Linked DNA regions of Homo sapiens: all the other regions are linked to region 1. Evidence: promoter capture Hi-C in human tissues and cell types (Jung and others, 2019). All regions are on one chromosome and are shown on one strand. Each heading gives the region's core, a stretch centred on a gene start or on the middle of the fragment in contact. The rest is flanking DNA. Distances are from core to core; before and after follow the strand shown. Region 1 holds the start of CLVS2 (clavesin 2). Region 2 overlaps TRDN (triadin). Region 3 has its middle 180 kb from the start of CLVS2.

Region 1 (3,672 bases), core at 740-3,239:
TAATATGTCCATCTCAGAGAACAAAATTAAACAACTGTTTTTTCATCAAGGTGAAAGATCTGAATTTTAACTTCACTTACAGGCTAACAAGTTAGCTGGCTGTAGTTTCATGGATGCCGATGGAAGATGCAAAACTCTTGGCTTCGAGATAAAGGATTTTGTCACTCAGGCATAGCGGGCAGTATGAGCATCTGCATATCTTGCATTGACTGGTCCCCTGAGCTCTAATTCCCACAGATAGCTAAGAAAAGAGGATCAAGTGATACTGGCATAAACAATGGGTGGCATTACAGCAGAATAGCTCTGAGTTTAGGGAATTCAAATAAGCTTGCCTACCTTTTGGTCAGGAGAGAGATATCACAGCTTTCAAGGCTTTGTTTCAGATGGAGGTACTATCTCTATCTTCCAATATCTTCCAAGACTATTTACTGTACAAATACCCTTGAGAAGACAGTCTAGAAAAAAGGGCAATTAGTGCCTTGGTCATAAGACAGGTAGAAACACAACGGATCCAGGGAGAATTGTCTCTCCATGTTGGTGATGACTAAAACTTCTTCATACAGTTGATACGAAACATAAATTTTCTTCAACCTCTAAAATATTAGAAAAAATGATTTTTTCAAATGTTTTAAAATGAGAACCAAAAATTTAACAGTTCACATTGCATTCAGCATGCTTGAGAAAGTCATAATCACTTAAAATCCTAGAAGGACCTTATATATAGTGCATATATATAACACACATATACACACACTTAAGTGGTTTATTTTCTGCCTTCCCCATTTAAAACATAAATTCCTTGACAATAATGACTGTGTGTGTGTGTGTGTGTGTGTGTGTAATTTATTGTCTTATTCGGGTTCCTACATTAATTTGCATTAATTTAATTAATAAATGCTCTAGCTCTACCATACAACCCTTTTCCTTCTTTCTTTTTATCAACACCATCGCCATGAGAAGAGCAAAAACAAGTGTGCCTGTATTTTGAGGGTTCTCATAGTCATCAACATTGAAAATGACAAGATAAGAAATGTCAAGATAAGAAAATGACAAAATTTGCTTATCTTCAAGACCACCTCCTATACACAGAATGCAGAAAAATGCCCCACACCTCGTGGAACTCAGTAAATATTAGTTGCATTGAATTAACTTCAATTCAAGACCCCATTCTACAGTTTATAAAGTCAAAAGTTGCTCTTAGTAACACGCTCAGTAATATGTGCTGTGTTTTGAAAATAGAAAATATCCCTTTTCCTCAAATCCATAGATAGTCATATTAAGCGCAAGGACTTCTGTTTATTTATAATGATTCTCATATACAGATGCATACAACTGAAGGAAGGATGGTATGTGTTTCCAGAAATATTTGCTTTATGATGAGATATGAGTGAAGTTCCTATTTTTTTCTTCCTTTGAGAATTATGTTTTTATTATCATTTACCCTAGTGCTCATTTTCATCCTCTTCAACAGAAATTTAGCAGGGAGACTGGTTGAAAAACTATTCATATAAGTTCCTCCGGAGGCTTAATCATCAGTACATTGTCTTGGAACCACTCTGGTGTTTTCTAAATTAAATATCTCTGTCTACAACAAATGCGAAAAGTACAGAATGTTTCCGTACTCCTTCTACATCAAAATTGCCTCCTACAGGAACGAGAAAATGCGTGTCAATGTGAATTACCGTCTACAACAGCTACTCTCCAGGCTGATCTGGGGTCTTGCACACAAAGGGCGAAGAGAGGGGCGTGGGGAGGCTGGAAAGCATGGTTGCCCCGCCTGGCCCGGCGACGCCCGCTCAGCAGCCTGCTGAGGAGTGGGGACGAAGAGCAGCCTAAACTTAGGGCTCGGGATATTTCGATGCCACCCAAATTGCCGTCCTACCCCAACGAGGCAGGGAAAGGAGCGGAGCGCGCGCGCGAGCTGAGTGAGTGCTTACGTCGCAGCGAGATCTGTGCTGGGATAATTAGAGAGGAGTTGGGCTGAGCCGAGTCCTCTTTCAGCAGCAGCAGCCGGAGCCGCCGCCGCAGCCCGGTGGGGCAACCCTGACTCGGACCGCTCGGGAGAGCCCCAGGAGAGGCCAGCGCCGCGCAGCAGCCGCCCCGCTGCGCCCACCTCCCCGGCTGCTCCCGGAGGGCTCACAAAGGCGGTGGCCGCCCGAGTGGCCTTCTCCATCCAGGCGTTCGCGTCCTCCTCCCCACCTTCTCTCCCGAAGGCGAAAATGGCAGGGCCAGGCGAGAACCTGGGACAGCGGTGGCCCTAGCCCTGCGATCCTCACCCCTCCTGCTAGGAGAGGCTGCGGGCTGCCCGCGGACGATGTGGCCGCGGCTGCTCCCGAGCGCATCTTCGGCCCGGGTCCCCGCCGCCACCCCTCTTCTCTGCTCCTTCCATCCCGCCCAGAGGAGTTGATGCCGCTGTCGCCGCCGCCGCCGCTGCTGAAGCCGCGGCTGATGGATGCCAGGGAGTGCCGCATTGCTTAGCGACCCCGCCTCTGGGTTTGCTGGTAGGAGCGGCTGCTCTTTCTTCTTTCTTGCTTTGGGGTTTTATAGAAAAGATAAGGACATTTTTATTTTATTCTTCACAACGTCCTCCCCTTCTCTTCGTTTTTGAAATGTGCATTCCCAGAGATATCCCCGGTCCCCTCCCTCCCCCTCCCCCCTTTTCTCCAACCCCGCGGCAAGTCCGTGGAAATGAAGGGCTAGAGGAAGGCAGAAGTTGGGGGTGGGGTTGGGGGAGCCCACGCTGGTACCAACGCCACCAGAACCCCTGCTGGTGCCTTATGAGATCACGGTGTATCTCAGAGGGGTGGTGGGAAGGTGCGCTATCTGCAGAGTCTTCACCTAATTGGATCACAATAATCTTAAATAAATCACACAAATTTGTCTTTTAAAAATAGCGTCTTTGAATAAGTACAGGGAGAAATAATCTCCTTTCTCCCCCCTCTTTCTCTCTGTCTCTTTTTCTTTCTGGCAAAGATGATCTCTCTCCGCCCTGGAGCTCAGCGCTGAAGAGCTACCTTATTATTAATCAGAATTTCCATCGCCACCCCTGGCAGGCGTATCCTTCAGCAGGGACCGCAGGAACATTCACAGTGCAGGGGCTGAGATGTGCGTGGGGGTTGTTTTTGTTACATCTTGGAAGAGAAGAGAAGAGGACAGTACCAAGATCAGAAACACCCGTGCTAGGTGGAATTAGGGGTGATTTGTTAGGAAAGAGAAAGGACAAGAAGAGGAGTGCGGAGCCCTTCAGGGGTTCACATCTCTTTAAAGGAAAGGAAAGAGGGAGCCAAAGTAGGGTGTTGTATTTTAGGGGGCAGAGGAAGAAGTTTACACCCCCCGGCCCCCCCAGCTTTGCTGGGGGAAAGCAGGAGCAACAGGGCACTTGATTGGACACCAAGATTATTAATTTCCTGTAGGGGAGAGGAAGCAGGCAGCAGGAGGTCTGGGGGCTGGAGTCTGGTGGTGGCAAGGACCAGGTTTGCTTTGGGACAGTCAACAAGGTCTTCTGAGGGAAAGCTCAGAGATAGGCAGAACAATGACTCATTTGCAAGCCGGTCTCTCCCCTGAGACCCTGGAGAAAGCTCGCCTGGAGCTCAATGAAAACCCAGACACGCTGCACCAGGACATCCAGGAGGTGAGGGATATGGTCATCACCAGGCCGGACATTGGCTTTCT
Region 2 (3,672 bases), core at 852-3,351, 240 kb after region 1:
GAGAAAGCAAGAGAGGATGGAATCAAAAAGGAATACAGAATGTAAATCTTAGGAGAAGCAATGCTTCTTGATATGAGAATGGGAGGCTGATGATAGGGAATATACAAAAGAGTAAAAAGAGATTGTAATTTGGGGAGAAGGCAAACTTTGAAGAACCCACATTTATGGCATGGATTAATTTTGTTTTTCTCAGTTTTAAACATAAAATTTTTCTGTGTAGTGTCCAGTCTGCTCTATATGCTCTTAGCAAACACTATAAATAAATCAAAGCCCCCTAAATAATGCACGTATATGTACCAGCTCAGTTACTCTATGTTCATCTCTACCAGCAGTCTATTTTGATTTGTGCAGTTTCAAGAAATCCTCGTAAGTAAACATGTGGAATCCTTAGTCATAGATGCAAAAAAAGCTTAGCATGAATATTTGTATTCTTCCTCAGCCCTCTTCCTTTATCAAATTCGCTGCCTCTCTCTGTTTCTGCAGAGATACCCAAAGCTCCAAATTATTTTCTCAACTAACTGGCCAAATTGTGTGTAACCGGTTTAACAGAATATTACTTTCTAAGAGTTCACATTTTCCTAAGAAATCTTAAAAACCCACGGTAGTTCAAAGCAACATTTGACAGCCAGTTTATTTTAGCTCTCAGGTGTGAGAAGCTCCTTCAATATGTGCTATTATTTAAAGTAATAACGAGTTTTAAAGAAAATGAACTGCTACACTGAGAACTCACTGAAGATTCTTAAAATTGACTCTAGGGAATAATAAACTATGCAGGGAAATTTCACATTTGGGATTTTGTAGGCAGCACACAGTGAAGCCAGGAGTGTTCAATGAATGTATGCGACCCTTTCTTAGTGTCTGTCCCATCACTCCCAGGATAAACACGGCTCTCTTGAGGGCAATGTCAGAACAACTTAACATCACCCTTAAATGAATGAGGCCACAGTGCTGGGACCCAAAGTCTAATAATGAACAGTGACAAACGTTTCACCAAATGCGCCTTATACACAACCTTTCTCTGGAGTTTAGCAAAAGGGGTGATCAGAGTGGTGAGTATGATCACTGGCACATATTAAGGAGACTTCAGCCAATTTTTTCTCCTAAAACAAAATCATCATGAATTTAATCACCCTTGCTTTAAAAAGTGAGATTGTTTTAAATCCAAGCAAAAATAAGAGACAGATGTTTTCTCTTTATTTTTTTATTTAATAATTGTATCCATTTTGACACAAAAGTTTAATAATTGAAATCTGTCCCTTGCTAGGGGAGTAACCCATTGTCATTACATAATCATCATCATCCTCATTCTTATAGTTACCAATTAATAATCACTTATCATATACCAATCCCTATTCATGCACTCTACTATTTTATCTTAATCTACCCAAAATTTCTATGAGATGAATATTATTATTCAAAATTTAAAAATAAAGCTATTGAAGCACAAAAATGTTAAGTAATTTTTCCAAGTTATTCAGCTTTTTAAGTCATGATGGGAACCAGTACTTCTGACGCTAGTTTCCCTGGTATCGACTACTACCCTATGATACCATCTGTATACATATGTCTATTATGAATTTAGTGCTAATTTGTTTAGCAAAAACTACAGTAATGTTGCCATTCCATTTCAGCATGTGACCTCTAACAAAACAGAAGTCATTTTATAAAAACAATCACTTTCATATCATATATATGTGTGTGCATTTATGTATAGGTATGTGTATATATGTTTATAAACACACATATATTAAATATATATACACCCATGTGTAGCCAGAAATAAGCTTTCATCCATTCATTATAAGAAGACTTTATTTCAGTTTGTACATATCTGTATTAGTTGAGAATGGTTTTGCTTTAATAAAGATTAAATTTAGGATTCTGTGATGAAGCACTCGCTAAATTTTTAATGACATAATTAGTTTTACACAATTGTCTAGAACTGGGACGTAAGATATCTTGTTTTTTAATTTAGAAAAAGAAAGGCAATAATCTTGGTTAAAATAAGACTTGTGGATAAAATCTTAAAAACTATTGGACACTAATACTTCTGAAAATATGATAGACTGAATACACTAAAGTGCTCATTCACAGCAACAAAAACTAATACCTTTTGTTGAAGGACTGGGTTTAGAGGAAGTAAAGGAAATCTTCAAATAGAATTGACCCTTCTGTCCCAGGGAAATTAAAATAAAAAACTAACCCTGCTGATACATGAAAAGTGGGGTCACATTAGGACAAGTGCTTATATTAAAACTGAAATTCAGTAATTAAGTGTGCAAGGAGCAAAATGGGGGTGTAGAGGCTAGGATCGTTTGTTAAGCCAGGGAGGGTGGGACAATGATAAAATTGTCCTAGGGGACTGTGAGAACATAATAGCAGTAGAGATCTTAAATTTCCTTCATATTTCTCCCCCCAAAATGGATAGAATAGGTAGACAGCAAAAACCATGAACAATATTTATAACCAATTAGATGAACCCTAAGATAGCTACATATTGAGACAAATGAATAGTCAAAAATCTACAAGGAATCAAAGTCTGTGGAAGAGGAAGCAGAGGGAAACCATGGGGAGTCTGAGAGATGGGGATCAGTCTCTCAGATAGCCAATAGGTATTTCCCAAAGGAAGTTAGACTGATGAGATCATCAGCTAAAGTTATGAGGGACTTTGTCAAGTCCAATAGCAGGTAAGCATTGAGAGCTGAAGGTGCTGGAACCTTCAGATACCCTGTGACCTTGGGAAACTGACAAGCCAGGGCTCACTTTCAGGATGGATTCCCACAAATGGTAAGGAACTGCTGGGAGTGGAATAAAAGTTGAGCAAGACAGGGTCAGTAAAGACAAAGAAAAAGATAAGGTCAGGTAAGTGAGAAAAAGCAACCCAGCTAGGAAATCTCAAAAAGCTATCTTTCACAAGTTTTGTACGTTATTAATTTTATTTTTTAAGGTTTATTTTTTAAAATAATCACACAGTAAATTGAGTTTTTCAGTGCAAACTTCTATGAATTTTAAGACATGTATATGAATTTTAAGACACGTATAGATGTGTGTGACTACAACCAAAATCACCTCCAAAAAATACCTTTGTTCTCCTCCTTTATAGTGACACTCCCCCTCTGTCCCTAACCTTGAGCAACTACTGAGCTGTAACCCAATGGAAGAATCTCATATGCATGAAAACTTCCCGTATGGAACCTTTGGAGCTTAGCTTCAGAAGAAATAACGTATTTGAATTCATATAACTGCTGCACATATGAATTTTTATTCCTGAGAAATATTCTGTTGTGTGGATGTACTACAGCTTCTATATCCATTTGCCTGTTGAAGGACATTTGGGTTATTTCCAGATTTGGCGATTGTGAATATAGCTGCAATAAACATTTATGTTCACATTTTTGGGCAAACATAAATTTTTATTTCTCTCATCCTTCAGGAGTGAGATGGTTGGGTCACAACATAAGCAACTCTCAGTTTTCTATAGTGCCAGTACCATTTTGCCTTCCCGACAGCAATGTATGAAAGTTCTGGTTGTTTCAAATGCTTGCCAGCACTTGTTTTTGTTTTTCCATGTTTTAAAAAGTTACTTATCCTAATAAATGTGTGCTGTTATATAATGGTGGCTTAGCTTGCAATTCTCTAACAGCTAATAATGTCAAATATCTTTTCTGGCTC
Region 3 (3,672 bases), core at 488-2,987, 180 kb after region 1:
CAATCTTCTAAGTGATGCCTTCCTTTTCTAACTCACACCACTTTCCCCCAGAGGCAGTGCCTTCTTAAGTGGTGTCATATCTAGTCCCAATTTTAATCACTTCCTTTCAACTCTCCAGTAGCTGACACTCTGCTCTATCATGTGTGTTCTCAATAGATCAGCTTTTAGGGTGGAACTTTCTCTCTCTGGGGTGACTGATTTATGTTCCGTCACCTCTCTGACCCTCTCCCCTTTTTTATTCTCCATAATATTAGCCTCACTCTACTCTGATGTGGTCATGAAATTGGCTCTACTACATTCTGGTATGTATTTCTCAAATTATGCAAAATGTTACTTTGGGCCTTTGTCTCCTGGTTATTCCCTATGTGAAAATTAAGCTTATTTAATTTATTCTCCTTGTTTATGTGTTTGGCTTACTTGCAGGATGTGTAGAGAAATCCACTTCGACAGTCACTATTATATTATCAGGTGCTGTTTATGAAGTGATGTTTCTAACCTCTTTAAGAATCATGATAACTTTCTCCCACATAAAAGACTGTTAAACCTTTTTCTTCTGAAGAAAAAGAAGAAAGAGTACAAATGAGATATTTGCATTTCGCTCACCTCTACACCCTTTTATATTTCTTGGAGAACATATTTTTCAATGGATATATTGTTTTTGTAATGTGTGAACATTTCTACTGTACTGAGGTTATGGCTTCTTCTTTTGAGAGATGAAATGCTCTCTGGGTCTTCTTTATTAGGCCTGCAAATCCCTTTGATATAACTGGAATTGAATAGATTGCAAAACAGATGACAAATGGGGCACAGGTCAATGTTAATAGAACAATCTTTCTCTAAAATGAATGAGAACAGGAAAAATAAATGGTATGACTTATTCAGAATTATTATGGATGGAATTCTATAATTAAACTATGAGAGAGAGAGAGCATACGGTGTTTGCCCTGAATTTTGAAAACTTTTGAAACTTTACAACTGCAATCTCATTTCTTTTGACTATATTTTTGGTATATACATTAAAGTACATGATGCAGTTTGCTAGATAATGTAAAAACAACATATTTCAGTAAGTTCCAAGTAACTTCAAAGGAAGTTAATAACTGAAATAAGAAATATAAGACAAAAATGACTATAATTAGATTAAAGGACAAACATGATTATAAGCAGAAGGTGAAAGCTGTGCCAAATCAATACAATTTCAGCTTAGACTTTACATATTAGCCTAGAGAGACTGGATGACAACTTAAATGGGTTCTAGATGGGTGACGGAAAAAGAGTCAACTTGGTTGTTGGTAGAATGTTGGCATTCCCAACAATCTTGGTATGTTTAGTGAAAGTAAAAGATAATACTAATGATTTCAAATTGTCTTTTGAATTATTTTCAACTTATAGGCAATGTTTTCTGGATCATTCAAAGACAAACCGTCTTATCCATAAATAAGTTTCCATGGATGTTTTTTAGTTTAATGGGTGAAAAATAGAGCCTTGCTATGTATCAGACTCAGCTCTTCACTAAAGAAAACCATAGTATCTGACCTCAAACCCCTCTTCTAAGCTTTCTGGAAATTTTTGTATTGGGAGCTCTTCGAAACTATCTATATTCTTCAAAGACCCGAAGAGCAGCATACCACTCAAAGATAGAGTTATCCTTCATAACGTAAACTTTCTATAATATTTACAGAGACATCTTCAGTCATTAAGACTGATGTATGTGACATGATTAAAAAGGCAGAAAGAAAACTTTAAATACCTACAACTAGCTGCCATTAATGCTTAATAAGTTTTTTTAATGCTTTCATGTTTATTTCAAATGGAAATGGAAATGGCTAAAGTAGCACATTAATCTGTTATCAGTAATTTATTTCTATAAATAAAGGTTTAAAAATTTAATGGTAGAGAGATGAAAACACCAGGGTCCTGGGGGATGGGAAGAAAGAAGTATTAGAAGCTGATAACATTTCATGTGTTTCGTGAAGGTTGGAGAGCTCTCAGACAAAGCCTGCCATTTAGTTTAGATCAAAATATCTAGACAAAAAATAAAATGTTGTTAGTCATCCAGTTGTTTTGACATTACATAGGCCATATAGCATTATGAAAAAAGCATGAGTATTACTTTTCTCCTAGATATTTCTCAGTGTATAAACATAGCCATAAACATAATAGTTTTTACCAAAGGTAGCTGGAATATGTCAATGTCATTAATTCAAGTTTTTAAAATATAGAAATTAAGAGCAAGTTGATATTGTAAGTTATGAGCACACTGATCACACACATCTAATTTGGGTCCCACAGCCCCACTAAATTATAACAAATCTTTTAAAGACGTTTTGTGGAATATGTTAAGCCACAGATAGAAAGAGAGGAGGACAAACAATAGAATCTTAGAAGCTAGAAAGCAAATAGAATCTTAGAAGCTAGAAAGCAAATACAATCTTAGAAGCTAGAAAGCTAATAAAAGAGGAAAAGCTGAATTAACAAAATGGAGAAGACAGTTCCATTCTTTTCTGCTAGGTAAGCAGAGGGGAAAGCTCAAACCAATATATATTTTTTTCCTGAATAATTGTCAAAAAGCTCAGAAAATACCAATCCCAAATATCTCTGAAAATTGGGGCAGGCAGGACACTAATATAAAGATGATGTAGGTAAAGGATATTTGTGTGAGAGTCCTGAATCCCTCCCAGACTTTTCACCTCCGGATGAGTTCTTCCCTCCTACACTAGCAGAGTTACAAAATGTTATTTCCTAAACAGAGGATAAAGTCTTTGTCCTGGAGATCTATAGAAACAGTAAAAGCCACTGGTTTCTTAATGAAAATAGGGCCATCAAATGACCTCATACATACTCAGTGCTGCATCTTGGTTCTCTCTCCTCTTCTCAACTCCCAGAATGCTGGCAGCCAAAACTTTATACTTCACACAAAGGATAAATCTCAGGAAAAATTCACATCTCTGGAGGAAATACTTAAAGATACTGGTGTTGAGCACTTTCTCCCCAAAATATTTTCAGACATACAAGTTTCAAGGAATATCTCTCATGCACCCTTTGCCAATGGAGGTGCCAGGAGATATACTGCAACAAAATAAGGCAATAAACTAAGAGAAAGTGGGCCCCAAAATACAAGAACCAGAGAACTGAAAAAGCAGAGTGTCAAATCAAATCCCTAGAATAACACAAAAGGAAAGCTCAGGGTGATAACCTATGTATCAGACATGGAGGGCAAACAGTTCAACTTGGGGCAGTCTGACTCAAAGGGCATGTACACTGAGGCTACCATCAGAAGGCCTTTTTCTGTGATAGCATTTTATGATCTGACAAAATTATTGGGGCATATATTTCAGCAAAATTGGAGAATAAATGAAGAAAGAAAAAAAAACAAGAGATAAATAATCCAGGGAATCCAGCCTAGAGGAAAAGCAGAGAGAATTCCAAGATAAATCTAAGGATGTCTCAAGATGGCAACTGGGCAGCAGATAGGAGAGTAGATGTCTCCAGGTAGGTCATGTCCAGGAAAAAATGGCAACATATGGATTGCCTAGTGTGACTGACATTGTTGAAAATTGTACTGAGAGGCTGCTGGAAGGTAGGGGAAGAATTAGCAACAGATACAAATAAAACCAAGCAGGAAAAAATTGGGTGATATTATACAATTATAGTAAAATACAACATTCAATT

The links. Contacts are between HindIII fragments. The study calls those that stand out against the background at their distance.
Region 2: a contact is called between a fragment that was not itself captured here and the fragment with the promoter of CLVS2 in region 1, in 2 of the 25 tissues and cell types used here (H1 embryonic stem cells and mesendoderm cells).
Region 3: a contact is called between a fragment that was not itself captured here and the fragment with the promoter of CLVS2 in region 1, in 2 of the 25 tissues and cell types used here (H1 embryonic stem cells and mesendoderm cells).

The regions. Positions count from the first base shown.
Region 1 is chr6:122,994,246-122,997,917 of GRCh38, forward strand. CLVS2 (clavesin 2) reads left to right here and starts at 1,990. Exons shown (of 6, transcript NM_001010852.4): 1 at 1,990-2,501; 2 at 2,974-3,672. The coding sequence starts at 3,533. LOC124901392 (a long non-coding RNA gene) reads right to left here and starts at 675. Exons shown (of 2, transcript XR_007059733.1): 1 at 337-675; 2 at 1-241. The HindIII fragment of the contact is 5,962 bases long and covers 1-3,672 here.
Region 2 is chr6:123,232,615-123,236,286 of GRCh38, forward strand. The region is part of intron 38 of TRDN (triadin); the gene reads right to left. Among named protein-coding and RNA genes, the nearest start is that of TRDN-AS1, 210 kb to the right of the region's middle. The HindIII fragment of the contact is 4,369 bases long and covers 1-3,672 here.
Region 3 is chr6:123,176,798-123,180,469 of GRCh38, forward strand. No RefSeq gene overlaps it. Among named protein-coding and RNA genes, the nearest start is that of CLVS2, 180 kb to the left of the region's middle. The HindIII fragment of the contact is 3,176 bases long and covers 150-3,325 here.